2 separate regions of the Homo sapiens genome follow, and region 1 is linked to region 2. Evidence: promoter capture Hi-C in 16 types of primary human blood cells and fetal thymus (Javierre and others, 2016). All regions are on one chromosome and are shown on one strand. The core of a region is centred on a gene start or on the middle of the fragment in contact, and the rest is flanking DNA. Distances in the headings are between cores, read along the strand shown.

Region 1 (5,678 bases), core at 1,447-3,946, 4.6 Mb before region 2:
GTAGTATATAAGGTTTTTTTAGGGAATGTATAAATTGCTGTAGGTATTTACCTTGGCTGTACAAGAATTGTCCAAGAAATTCTTGTTTGAAAAATCAGAATTTTTGAACTCTTTTATTTATTGTAAATAAACTATTTACTGTAAATGCCAATAAATTATGATAAATTTAAAGGATTTTGGAAAATGATCATGTTGTCTTAAAAAGACAGCATAAGACATATATTAAATATATTAGGTGAATCAAGATCATAGACCAGTCAGAGTTAGTAGAGAAGTAGTGGGTGAAGTATAAAAACTTAGTGGGAGCTACCCTTAAACACAGTAGAGGAGATCAGGGTTAGGTTACTTGAGAGATTTAGCAAAGACCCCTAGGTAGGGGGCACAGCTTCAAGTACCATTTACTCACTCTGCAACCTCTATTCCTTCTTATTGGCTACTATGAACTAATGACACTATGAATGTGACCATAAGATAAATCTTCCCTCTGCATGTCTTGTTAGGGAGGTACATGTTTTCTTATTTAAGACTTTCATAGACATATATACAGAAAAGTGCACAAATGAGTATTTGGCTTAATGAGTTTTCAGTATTTCAGGTACACAGGAAACATGACCATGTAAACCTCTAGGCAGATTAAGAAACATTGCCACCATCTTAGTGTCTTTCATAATTAATATCGGAAGTGATAAACGGTCACTTCTGCCCTCTTCTGTAGGTAACACAGACCAACCGTGGTACAATATAGGAAGGCAGTGCATAAGGATGTGAATGCCAGGAGTGAATGCCATCTTGGAGGCTGGCTACCGCAGTCATGCATTGATCGTTTTCAAATACTACTGGTTCACTTATGCAGCCTGCACAAATATTGATGTATTTAAGCAAACAATGTAAATAAAAGTCACAACTGATAATCACTTATATCAGAAAATTCTGGAGATACTGGGAAGCTGCCAAGATCATTATGGTGAATACCATTTTTCCAAAATCATATTTTTTTTTTGCCTAAAATCTTGAATTTTATCATTGGCAACAAACTCAATTTTTTTTTCTTTCCTCCCTCCCTCCCTATTTCTCTTTTTTCCTTTCCTTTCCCCTTCCCCTTTCCCTTTCCTTGTTTTTCTTGAAGTTACAGATTCCCTTTGTTCATTTTCAAGAAAGGTTTGTCAAATACCCAAGTCCGAATAACCGGTTTGTCACTCATCTTAGTAAAATTTGTGTTCCAGGAAAAAAAAGTATTTACTTCAGTTTATAATGCCATCTCACAGTAGCTCTTCTTTGATACGTCATACTTCAATATGCAGCAGAAGTACTTTGTGAGGACTTCCAAGTTTTTACAAAGAATATTAAGTGTCGGAGTGGTTATAATAAAGTAACTTTTACAACTTCATCAGGGATATTCTCTGGTGACAGCGTTCATTTTTCCATTTTTTTTTTTTTTTTTGAGACCGTGCCTTGCTCTGTCATCCAGGCTGGAATGCAGTGGCATGACCTCGGCTCACTGCAGCCTCGACCTCCCAGGCTCAAGGGATCCTCCCACCCCAGCCTCCCGAGTAGTTGGGATTCAGGTGCGTGCCGCCAGGCCTGGCTAATTTTTGTATTTTTGGTAGAGATGGGGTTTCGCCATGTTGGCCAGGCTGGTCTCGAACTCCTGACCTCCCAAAGTGCTAAGATTACAGGCGTGAACCACCGCGCCCGGCCCATTTTTCTTACTGTGAGCGTGTGGTGGTGAAGAGCTCCAGTACGGTTTGGTGTCATTACTGTAATTCCTGTGGAGGGGCCAGCACCTTGACCTACCATTGCTTTTCCACCATCAGTGCAAATGTCAGCATTGTGCAAAGGGCAAATCACGTCTTCATATTAGTATGAAAATAATTTTGGCTTTGAAAGGGTGTCATTGACCCTCAGGACAATCGTTGGTCGACATCAGTGGTTCTCAACGGGGCAGGGTGGGAGGGATAGTTTTTCTTCCAGGGGAAATTTCACTGGGGAAACCATTGGCTGTCACAATCGACTGGTGGTGACATCCCGTGGACAGAGACCAGAGATGCTGCTAAGCACCCTACAATGCACAGAACACCCCGTCCCCCAACAAAGCATTATCCAGTTTGAAATGTTAATGGTGCTGAGGCTGAGAAAGTATGACTTCCAAAAATGAGTCTTTTGGGCAGGAGAGTTGGAGAAATTAACAATCTTGATTACCTTTATTACATGTGCTCGTTTATTTTCAAGACATGATGCACAGCTACGTTCTGGCTGTAATTCTGCCTTCTGGGTCCAACTCACTTGTAACTTTAACGTGAAGCCTGCAGTTCAGCCTCGAGCCTCCCTGACTAGCCTCCCCGCCCGGCCGCCTCGAGCCCTTTATAACCGAATTTTGCCTCTCTGTTCTCTGCGTCTGGCCGACCTCATCAGCTAGGCTATAAACCCCTTCGGGGAAGGAGCATATCCTAATCCTTTGAATCCCGTAAAATAAGTTTTCCCCTCACCTTGTTCCCCACTGACGGGACGCGAGGCTGCGCGGTACCGCGGGGGCGGCTCCTCTCGGTGCGCTCTTCAGCCCGCGCAGCCTCATTTTCCCGCGCTCGTGCGCTGCGGTCACTCAGGGCTGCTGCTAGAGGGCGCGCCCAGCCGCGTGGCCCTGACTACTACAAATCCCAGAAGGTCATGCAGTGGGGGCGGCCGCGGTGACTTCTGGGATTTGTGGTCCCGGAGAAGAGATTGGCGGAGGGGAAAGACTGAGTCGTCTTTCCTTTGCCCGCTTCTGTGGACTGTTCGAACGCCCAGGGGTGGGCCAAACCCGTTTCTTAGGAAACCAGGAATCCAGGGAAGGCAGGTAGGAATTTGGGCGTGATAATTTCTGCTTCCAGTGGGAAAGAATGTAAACACGGGGCCTTGGGAGCCGTTATCGGGTAACTGGGGCTGCCCGGTCGGCGGTGGAAGCTGAGGAAGAGGAGGAAAAAGAGGCGAGTGGGTGTTGTGATTAGGGGAGAAAGGACCTTCGGAATAGGAGTTGAAACCCGACGGGATCCGGCAGAGCCTGGTCGCTAGGGTTGGTCTCCAGGGACAAGCGAGTCTGAGGGTCGGGCCCGCCGTGGCACCTTCGCGGAGCTGCGCGGCCGCAACCTTCCCTGAGCGGTGGGACGGGCGGGACGAGCCGGCCGCTCCCCGCTGGAGAGGTGTCTGCGGCCCGGGGCGGTCCGTGAACGCGCAGGTGACGTCCGGGGCAGCCTTTCTGAGCGTTTTTATTATTGTTGACCGATGAAGGGAAAGTCACTAATACTGGTTTTTCTCTTGCGGTGGCGTTTTTGGGTAAATCGTTTCTTGGATTCCTCACCTCTGAATACCTCCTTTTACCCAGAAGGATGCTGTTGTGATTTCCTGATCTTGTTCATGTAGTGGTTTTTCCCTTTGGGTGCTGCATCCTCAGACACACTCAAGACAAGCCCTCTCTGGCGGCTGGGTAAATGTGAAGCCGTCGCCAGTTGTTGAGCGCCTACTATAGGGATCTTTGTAACAGTACAGGAATTTAGAATACAGCGTCGTTGTTTAGAATCGTTATGCCATTCCTGAAATATAATCCTATATAAAAGGTTGAATTTGTCTGGTTTCATGAGTTTAACATGAAACCGGTGTGGATTGTGGTTTACTCTCATGGTTTCTTACTCTGGTAAAAAAATGTTAAGTCTAGGATGTTGAAGCCTCGTGCTTCTAACTAGACTCAGGAAAGCCTCCTTCATAAGAAGTTTTAATTTCATGTTCAGATAGTCATAGAGGAACAATAAACTCGTTCGGCTTAAGATATCTGAAACAACTGGGAATGTTAAATTTTCTAATGCAGAAAGTGCTTTGCATGCTCTAGGATTCACATACCTTTTTAAGCCTGGCTAAGTTTTCTTCAAAGCTTAAGTCCTCCAGAAAGCCTCAAGTGTCTCTTCTCTGATGTCATGGCATCCTTTGTTTACTCTCTTGTAGCACATATCGTGTATGAAATTGACTGTACTCTGTGGTTTCCAGACACTTTTGAAGAAAATATAAAACTTTGCTAATGGCCTTGATAACAGATTCATGCTTTTACACAGTAGTGGGCCCTTGATACTACTGTTTGGTATCTCTATTTTTCCTTTGTTGCTTTTCCTTATCTCCACAGTGACTATTTTAGTCTTTTCCCTTTTTCTCAAGAACTCAGATCTGTTATTTTCCTTTTACTTTGAGCAGATGACTAGCCGCTGTTTGCTGGAGAAATGTGAAGCTTGGGGCATGAAATTCCTCATTTTCCTTTCCCTCCATCCCTGAACTTGCCTGTATGTTTCACTCAATATTAACTCCTTTTTTTGTCTGAGAGGACTGTATTTTTGTCTCCCTCTTTCAGGTTAAACTTGTCGATTGCTAGTGGCATCAGGCCTCCCACACCCTCATAACCTCAGTCTGTCCTGACCTCTGCAGCCCCTGATCTCTAGGTCTCAAGGGATCTGTGGAGGAGAATGGCTCAAACACCTGAGGCAATAGTGGCGTGGTTTTTTCACATATGGTTGAGAGCCACCACCTTGGGCCATAACTTATACTTGTCCCCAGCATTTATAACAGTGGTTTGGGTTGGAAGATGGGGAGGGTAATTGGAATCTGAATGACCTATTAATTTTAAAAGATGTGTGGGTCTGTTTCTCACTTTTTCCTTTCCTTCCCACCCTATCACAGCCCCTCATGTAATCTACAGATCTGATCAACGGTTTTTTTTTTTACTTTTTTTTCTTTTGATCAATGATTTTTATTGTAGTTTACCTCCAGTAAACACACTAGGTGTCCTTTAGTATGAGTAGGGTTCCCACAGTGCCTGGTGCCTCACCTTATGAATAAAGAAAGTTTCATTTGGAATCTTGAAACCGGAAAACGTGGTCATCATTCTTGTTACCATTAGGGATAATCATAAATACAAGACTTCTTTTTATCTTGTCTTACACTGATATCTTGTGAGTCTTTCCTAATGATCTGTATTTTCTCAGGTTGTCCTCACTGTGTGCCTTTTAACTTCTGTTCCATAGTATCCACACTTCTGTTTTCAGCCATCTTCCCCTACAATACTCATAGTCATCTTCAAACATGGGAAACTCATTCTCCTATAATATGATCGGCCTGGGGAGAGAGTTTGCATTGTCCTTATTCCCCAGCACAGTTTATAATCCATTAGTCCTCCAGGTTTTAAAAAAAATCTCAGTTCCTGTGGAAAGTTTGTGGTTCACTTATATTATCAGCCTGTATATTTCTTTCTTTCTTTCTTTCTTTCTTTTTTTTTTTGAGATGGAGTTTTGCTCGTGTCGCTCAGGCTGGAGTGCAATGGTGCAATCTCGGCTCACTGCAACTTCTACCTCCTAAGTTCAAGCGATTCTCCTGCCTTAGCCTCCCAAGTAGCTGGGATTACAGGCATGTGCCACCATGCCCAGGTACTTTTTGTATTTTTGTAGAGACGGGGTTTCACCATGTTGGCCAGGCTTGTCTTGAACTCCTGACCTCAGGTGATCCGCCTGCCTCTGCCTCCCAAAGTGCTGGGATTACAGGTGTGAGCCACCGCGCCCAGCCTGTATATTTCTTGATTGCTGTGATTTATTGGCACTCTCTCATATTCATTAAGAACTCAGACATACGACTCACAATTTTCTTACCCCTCCAAATTCTGCCATTAC
Region 2 (6,574 bases), core at 3,734-6,233:
GGCCAGGACTCCCCGGATCAGAATCTCAGGAATTTTACACTTTGAACAAGTTCCTGTGGGGATTCTGATATACAGTAAATTTTAGTATCTCCAGTCTGACAACCACTTTAGGGTCTGGAATTTCAAGCATTTAAGAGTCATGGAAGAGCTGATCAACAAATTAGTTCACCTCCATTTTCATGGCTATCACCTGTTTAAAGGGTGGGGTGGGGGACAAGCATTTCATGACCATAAATAAAATGCAATTGTCCCCTTTCCGCCTGTTACTGACCTCATTGCTGGGCCATTTCCTCCCCAACTCTTTCCATACACTCACTCCAAGGGCCAATCAGACCTGTTCTAGTACAGGTTGGCCACAGAGCTTTCATCTTCCCAGATAAACGGATGAAGAGGATTTAGTTGCCAGATGTACGGCTGGACTGGGGCCTGCAGGGAGAAACTGCTTAGCAAAGAACCAACAAAAACTTGCAGCCCAGAACCAGTCATCAGATATCTATGTACAGCAGGTGTGGCCTGTTCTACCCTAATCCTGGCAAAGCTAGTAGCCACCTGTCCTGACAACTGCAGACAAAACTCCTTGGAATGACAATCCGGCTCCACTGGAGGCCCAGGCTTCCAAAGGCCCATTGGGAATCCTCTATACCAGCTGTCCCTCATCCTGCATCACTGATTTCACCCTTCCCCACTCCACACCAATTAAGCAATCTCTGTTGTAAGTCCACGTACATTGGTTTCCCTCTGTGCCTCTCCTTAGGTAATAAACATAAAAGTCACCATTCTTTCTCTCTCCCTTCAGATATATACTTTTGAAGTCAGCTTTAACCATCAAGACACTGATTACACCATTTTCAGAGCCCTCTCTTTCCTCAGAATCTCCTTTCTTGCTGAGTGGAAGGAGGAAGATCTTCCACATCCACCTGAATGGGAATCACAGCTCTTATTTTTTATTGTATTTTCTCCTCAACTTGACTTGCAAATTCCTGGGAAATAGCAAAGACTCCGGAAACTTCTGTCTTGTTCCCACAGTGCCTTGCTTAAAAAAAATTCTTTTTCACTTGTGGAAGGGCATATAGCAATCACACTCTATGTCAAAAGCTATCGGCACTGGACAGGTTAATAAAAATCTGTTCATCTTAGCAGGAAGTATCTTTCGCCATATTTGGTTGGTCAAGCACCAGATTGTTAGGGCTACATTCCAGACACAAAGAAGAGCGGTGAACATTAAATTTTGAAGAAAAAAAATTTTATACTAACAGGGTCAGAGTAACAATATTAAAAACAAAAGATAAAAGTCCACTAGCCTCCAAAATTGGTGTCAGGAATTTTGTTGGCTTATGTATTGTTACGTGTCAGTGGCATGCTAAGGGTTTTACGTCATTCTCATTTAATCTTCACGACGACCTGTGAAGTGGGTATTATTACAGCACTCCATTTCACAGATAAAGGAACTAAGGCAAAGAAAGCTCGAATAACTTTCCAAGGCTGATAAACGCAAGAATGAGGATTCAAACCCAGATCTGACTTCACTACAACCCTCTACTGCTTTTCTAACTAATCCAATTCCTGATGTATATTCCCAGACCATAAATTGGGCAAAGTTCTCTTTCCTAAAGAAAAGGCTGAAAACAAACGTATTTATTTTCTTAATTAAAAGTGGAATGCATCTCGAATCCGCATGTCTTCCTGCGCAGGGGCCATGCTAATCTTCTCTGTATTTCCAGTTTCAGTATATGTGCTGCCAAAGCGAGCAACCAACCAATCAACTAAACAACCAATCTATCAACCCTTCTGCAAAGGAAACCAGATGGGAGAATTTATGAATATACTTAAATTACCTTGGGTCTGCAAGACTTCATCTTTAAATGTTTAATCTGTTTCTTCTTCGCCATCATCCCCCACCTGATTTCAATTTAGACTCTGATCACCTCTTCCACAGATGATTTCAACAGCCTCCTAAATTCTGTTGACTTTAATGTGGGAATATATCCGGAATCTGACCACCCTCACCCCCAACAAGACTTCAAGCTTTGGCCAGGTGTGGTGGCTCATGCCTGTAATCCCAGCACTTTGGGAGGCCAAGGCTGGAGGATCGCCTGAGTCCAGGAGTTTGAGACCAGCCTGGGCAAGATGGTGAGAACGCCCCCGCAACCTCCATCTCTACAAAAAATAAAAAAATTGCTGGGCGTGGTGGTGCATGCCTGTAGTCTCAGTTACTTAGGAGGCTGAGGCAGGAGAATCGTTCGAATCCAGGTGAAGACAGTGAGCCAAGAGCAGGTCACTGCATTCCAGCCTGGGCAACAGAGCAAGACTCCGTCTTGAAAATATGAAATTTAAAAAAGACCCTAAGTTTCTACCCTTGATGCCCCTGCAGCTGAGTCTCAACACATCAGTGTGTCATTTTTAGAAGGTTAAATCAGGTCCCATCACAACTCTGCTCAACATTACCTCCAGCCTGATCTCCCCCGACTCTCCCTTTCGCTCATTCCACTCTTAGAATATGGCTTCCCTGTTCCTGGAACAAATACGTCACATTTATGCACCAGGGTCTTTGCAGTGGCTGTTCCTTCTGCTTGGAGCTCTTTTCTCCAAGATATTTGCATGGCACACTCCTTGCCTCCTTTATGTCTTTGCTTAAAGGTCACTGTCCAATTGAGGCTTTCTCTCAATACCTGGTTTAAAAGTGCACTCTATCTTCCCACCCCAAGACCTGCATTCCCTCTTGGCTTGTTCTATTTTTGTTTTTAGCCATAGCTCTTATCACCTTCTAACATACTATATAAAAATAGTTATTGTGTTTATTGTATTCTCTCACTAGAATGGATGCTCCCTGAGAGCAGAAATGTTTGTTGTGCCCACTCCTCTATCTCCAGCACCTGGAACACGGCCTAGCACATGGTATGTGCTCAGCAAATATTTGCTGTATTACTGTTTTAAATAGCTTACTAGTAAGAAAAACTGATAACCCCAGGTCAATGCCCTGTTTATCCTATGGCTTTTGCATACTCCAGGGTTCTGGTTCACTCTGGGAGGCACTCGTTCGCCTGCTTGAGGAACTAGGGGATGGGGAGCTATTAAGGAGGGAAGATACAGTAAGTTCTACATTTCAGTCAATCCATTCTAGTTCGGGGGATAGATCTGGGGAGAAGAAGGTTGGAATTATGAATCCACTCCAATAGTTCAGGCAAGAGACGACGAGAACTTGAGAAATAGTTACCAGAGAAGAGGGAAAGATGCGATGAATGACTGGATGTTGGGGGGCGGTGGGAAGCTGACTGACTCTCAGGTTTTCGGGTTGGGTGATTAAACAGATAGTGTCAGCAGTAATGGAGACAGAACATACCAGGAGAAGCCAATATGGGGGTGGGAGTGGGCCTGGGGAGATGTCTCCCCCACTTAGGTGAACGTTCACTTCGCAGTCCACTGATAAATAACTAAAGTGATTAAGGCAAAAAGATCACTCAGGGGTACAAAGCAAAAGGAATCCTACAAGAAGACCACTGTTTATGTTTCTGTTAAACGGTGAAACTGAGCTGGCCTTGAGGCAGGCAGATTCCCTTCTAAGGAAAAAGGCAGGAATGTCTTCTCATGGGTTAAAATTTTCAAGGTGATTATGCACCAGAACATACATATATATATATATATATATATATATATATCTACCAAGATTCCTGCATACTTGACGACTTGCCCTATTTTGTTGAAAAATAGCTTCAGAATTAGGCAATCTTAAAAGGAACCCATGCTAAAGATCTCTGAACAAAGGTTTCCCAACAACATAGCTAAATCCACCCTTTGCATAACTGACATTTTTACCCTCATGTCCTTACCTGGAAAGTTCTCTCGATTTAGCTTAGGCCTGCGGACAATCACAAAGTCTTTGTCACTCCCTTTGCTCTTCAGCCGTTTCCGTGGGGGGCTCTCCGGGTGGCCCAGGTTTGAGAGCAGTTCCTGGGGGATGTTCTCACTGTCGGGCTCCTCTTTCTCCAGGGCGGAGACCCCCATGCCTGACAGCAGTTCAGAAGTCTTGCTGGAATCCCATCCCCACGTGAAGCTGGTGGCAACGTTGCTACTCAGGTCTGGAATCTCCTGGAGGTGCTTCCTGCAGAAGTGCACAATACCCCCGGTTCCTTTCGAAAACACACCCATAAATAATTTCAAGGCAATTAAAGAAGCTGCAGTTTATGCATTGTAGGAAACCTTCACAGCAGCTAACAGAATCGCATTTTTTATGTGCCTGCGGCGAGTTACCAAGAAAACGAAGAAATGAAAAGAACAAATCGAGAAGGCTTTTTGACTTACGATCCTGCAGAAGGCCTCAAGAATTTCTCCCAGTGGAGGGAACAGACAAGGAGAGAGACAGGGCAATCATACACTGATTGAAAACGGTGGCAGAAAAGCCCAATTAGGGAAGCCAAATAAAACCACACGCTGATCCCCGCACTAAGGCATCCATCCATTCACACTTTCCCCAAGAAGGGGCTAAGCAACCATTCACTTAACAGCATTACTAACAATATTAGCCAGTAGCGATATTCGCGGCCTAAAAGAATTATTAAGAGGGTCCATTTCATGCTCTTCCCCTTTTTGCAATCCGTTTACCTGTGCATAGCGTCCGCAGGCCCGGGAGTTTAAAATACGTGCATTAACTGCAGAGCTGCTCGCCTCCCAGATTCCCGCTTTGGCGCGCGGCGGCTCCGAGCGTGCTGCTCGGGCCCCCAGCAGCCAGACCCGCTAAGCCTAGCAACGTTCCATCCCCACTGCGCGCGCAAGGCTCTACAGCCCGCTCTGCTTCGCGGCCGCACTGAGGCCCAAGGCCTGCTGGGAATTGTAGTTTCCGTCCCGCTTCGTAGTCCGACGGGCTCGCCCTTACTTCCTTCCCTTGCAGCTTTACCCGCCTTCGAGATACCCACAACCCCCCGCGGGAGCGGGACTGGTCGGCCCACGGGGTAGGCGGGGAGGCGGAAGCGGGCGGCGCTACGGCTGACTGGGAAATGTCAGCCGCTGGACTGTAGACGGATTTTCCTTTCTCGGGAGCCCGCAGGCCTTCTGGTGATCGCCAGCGCTGTCGTCTCTGAGCGTGGATCCCAGAACCTGGACAGCTGTGGCGGCCGCCGTTTCCCGGTCCCGTCCAGACGCTGTCTGGCGAGATCGGACGGTGAGCCTAAGGCGGAACGCGTGAGGCGCTTTTGAGTCTGGGGTCCGGGGCCGAGAGCAGGCGGAAAGAGAGGGGACCCGGCAGACCCCGAGTGGCCGCCGCTGCGGGGCCCAAGTCCTTGGCTGCTGAGTGGTGACAGTAGCCCAGCCCGCCGGCCAGGTGAGAGGCTGCGAACTGCTGGCGTCGCACCTGTTCGTCCTTTTGCCAGGAAGCTTCTTCCTCCGTCGGGGAGAAGGCGGCCCTAAGAATTGGGTCTGTGGACGGGATCCTTCCTTTATCTGTAAAATAACGCACAACAGCTAAACACGCCGTTGGAACGAGAGACAATGGTTTAATTTTAGGGGAGCCGGAGACCCCAGCGGGTCCTGTGTGGTGGGAAGGCTGCGCATGCCCTTGCAGCCTTGACAGGTCTCATAAATAGCAACATGGGAATAAATGAAAGGACTGTATTTTGCAACGAGCTTTACCCGTGCACGCAGGGGGCCTCCAGCAAAGCCATTTGGTTGCTTGCTGTCGCTCAGCTGGCTACGTGTGTTTGCGTCGCCGCCTAAAAGCGAGCTGCTTTCAGCCTATCTCTGCTGAGAAGAGTTTGGGGGCAGTAAGAGTAGGGAGCGTGACATATTCCAGGTACAATGACCATGCGAAATCCATTGGGCAAACTATACTACAACTGTGACCCCGGGAAAACAGTGGAAGAGGGAAGGGGGATGAATTCTAAGCCTCATAAAAATGAAGATTTATAAAGTTCATAAGGAAGCATAACAGCTTCATCGCATATTAGAATATTCAGTGATGCTGTATGACACACCCTCTGGTTTCCTTGAAAAAATGATTCGCTCTGTAGTGAAATTAAACCTCCCTTGTGCAGGTATATGCTTGTTTCAAGCTTGGTCCTTAGCTTGAAAAGTAACTGCCTCTTGAGGAAGGAATTCATGAACCTTTAGCTCGTTCTTGAAAGATGAGATTGGTGTAAAGAAGGGATCTGTTCACAACTTGGTTTTGATTGGAACTAGGTGCAGAATCCTAGGCTAAGCCGTTCATCAAACTAATGTTATATGGAAAGCATTTTAAAATGCAATATCCTGATGTTTTACAGAAAGTGACCTTTATGTTACTTTGGCTAAGGAGAAAGCATTTGCCTTTGTTTGAAGCTACGTCCTTTCCCTGAAGATTGCAACTCATAGGAGAAAATATTTTTGACACAAAAAATTATAGTTTCCTTCAGGAAAGGGAACAAAACAGAGAGAGCCTGTAAGCTAATGGAGGAGAAAGAATAAACAAAAATATTTAAGATGCCATAATGAGAATAAACAGTTTTGAGATGTAAAATAATTGGGAGAGCCCACTTCAGATATAGATCTCATAGATAGGAAGGTTTAATCGATGAGATGATTCTAAATTTAAAGATGAGAAATATCT

The links. Contacts are between HindIII fragments. The CHiCAGO score rates a contact against its expected background, and 5 or more counts as called.
Region 1: the fragment with the promoter of TTC33 here is called in contact with the fragment with the promoter of LMBRD2 in region 2 in 1 of 17 cell types (total CD4 T cells); the score reaches 6.9 in total CD4 T cells.

The regions. Positions count from the first base shown.
Region 1 is chr5:40,752,979-40,758,656 of GRCh38, reverse strand. It overlaps TTC33 (tetratricopeptide repeat domain 33), which reads left to right and starts at 2,696. Exons shown (of 5, transcript NM_012382.3): 1 at 2,696-2,833. RefSeq lists an enhancer at 2,673-2,822. The HindIII fragment of the contact is 9,414 bases long and covers 1-3,903 here.
Region 2 is chr5:36,150,296-36,156,869 of GRCh38, reverse strand. It overlaps LMBRD2 (LMBR1 domain containing 2), which reads left to right and starts at 4,983. Exons shown (of 18, transcript NM_001007527.2): 1 at 4,983-5,314. It overlaps SKP2 (S-phase kinase associated protein 2), which reads right to left and starts at 4,759. Exons shown (of 10, transcript NM_005983.4): 1 at 4,600-4,759; 2 at 3,828-4,099. The coding sequence starts at 4,607. It also overlaps the pseudogene RNU6-1305P. RefSeq lists enhancers at 4,453-4,642, 4,716-5,699 and silencers at 4,913-5,052, 5,653-5,712. The HindIII fragment of the contact is 3,342 bases long and covers 2,028-5,369 here.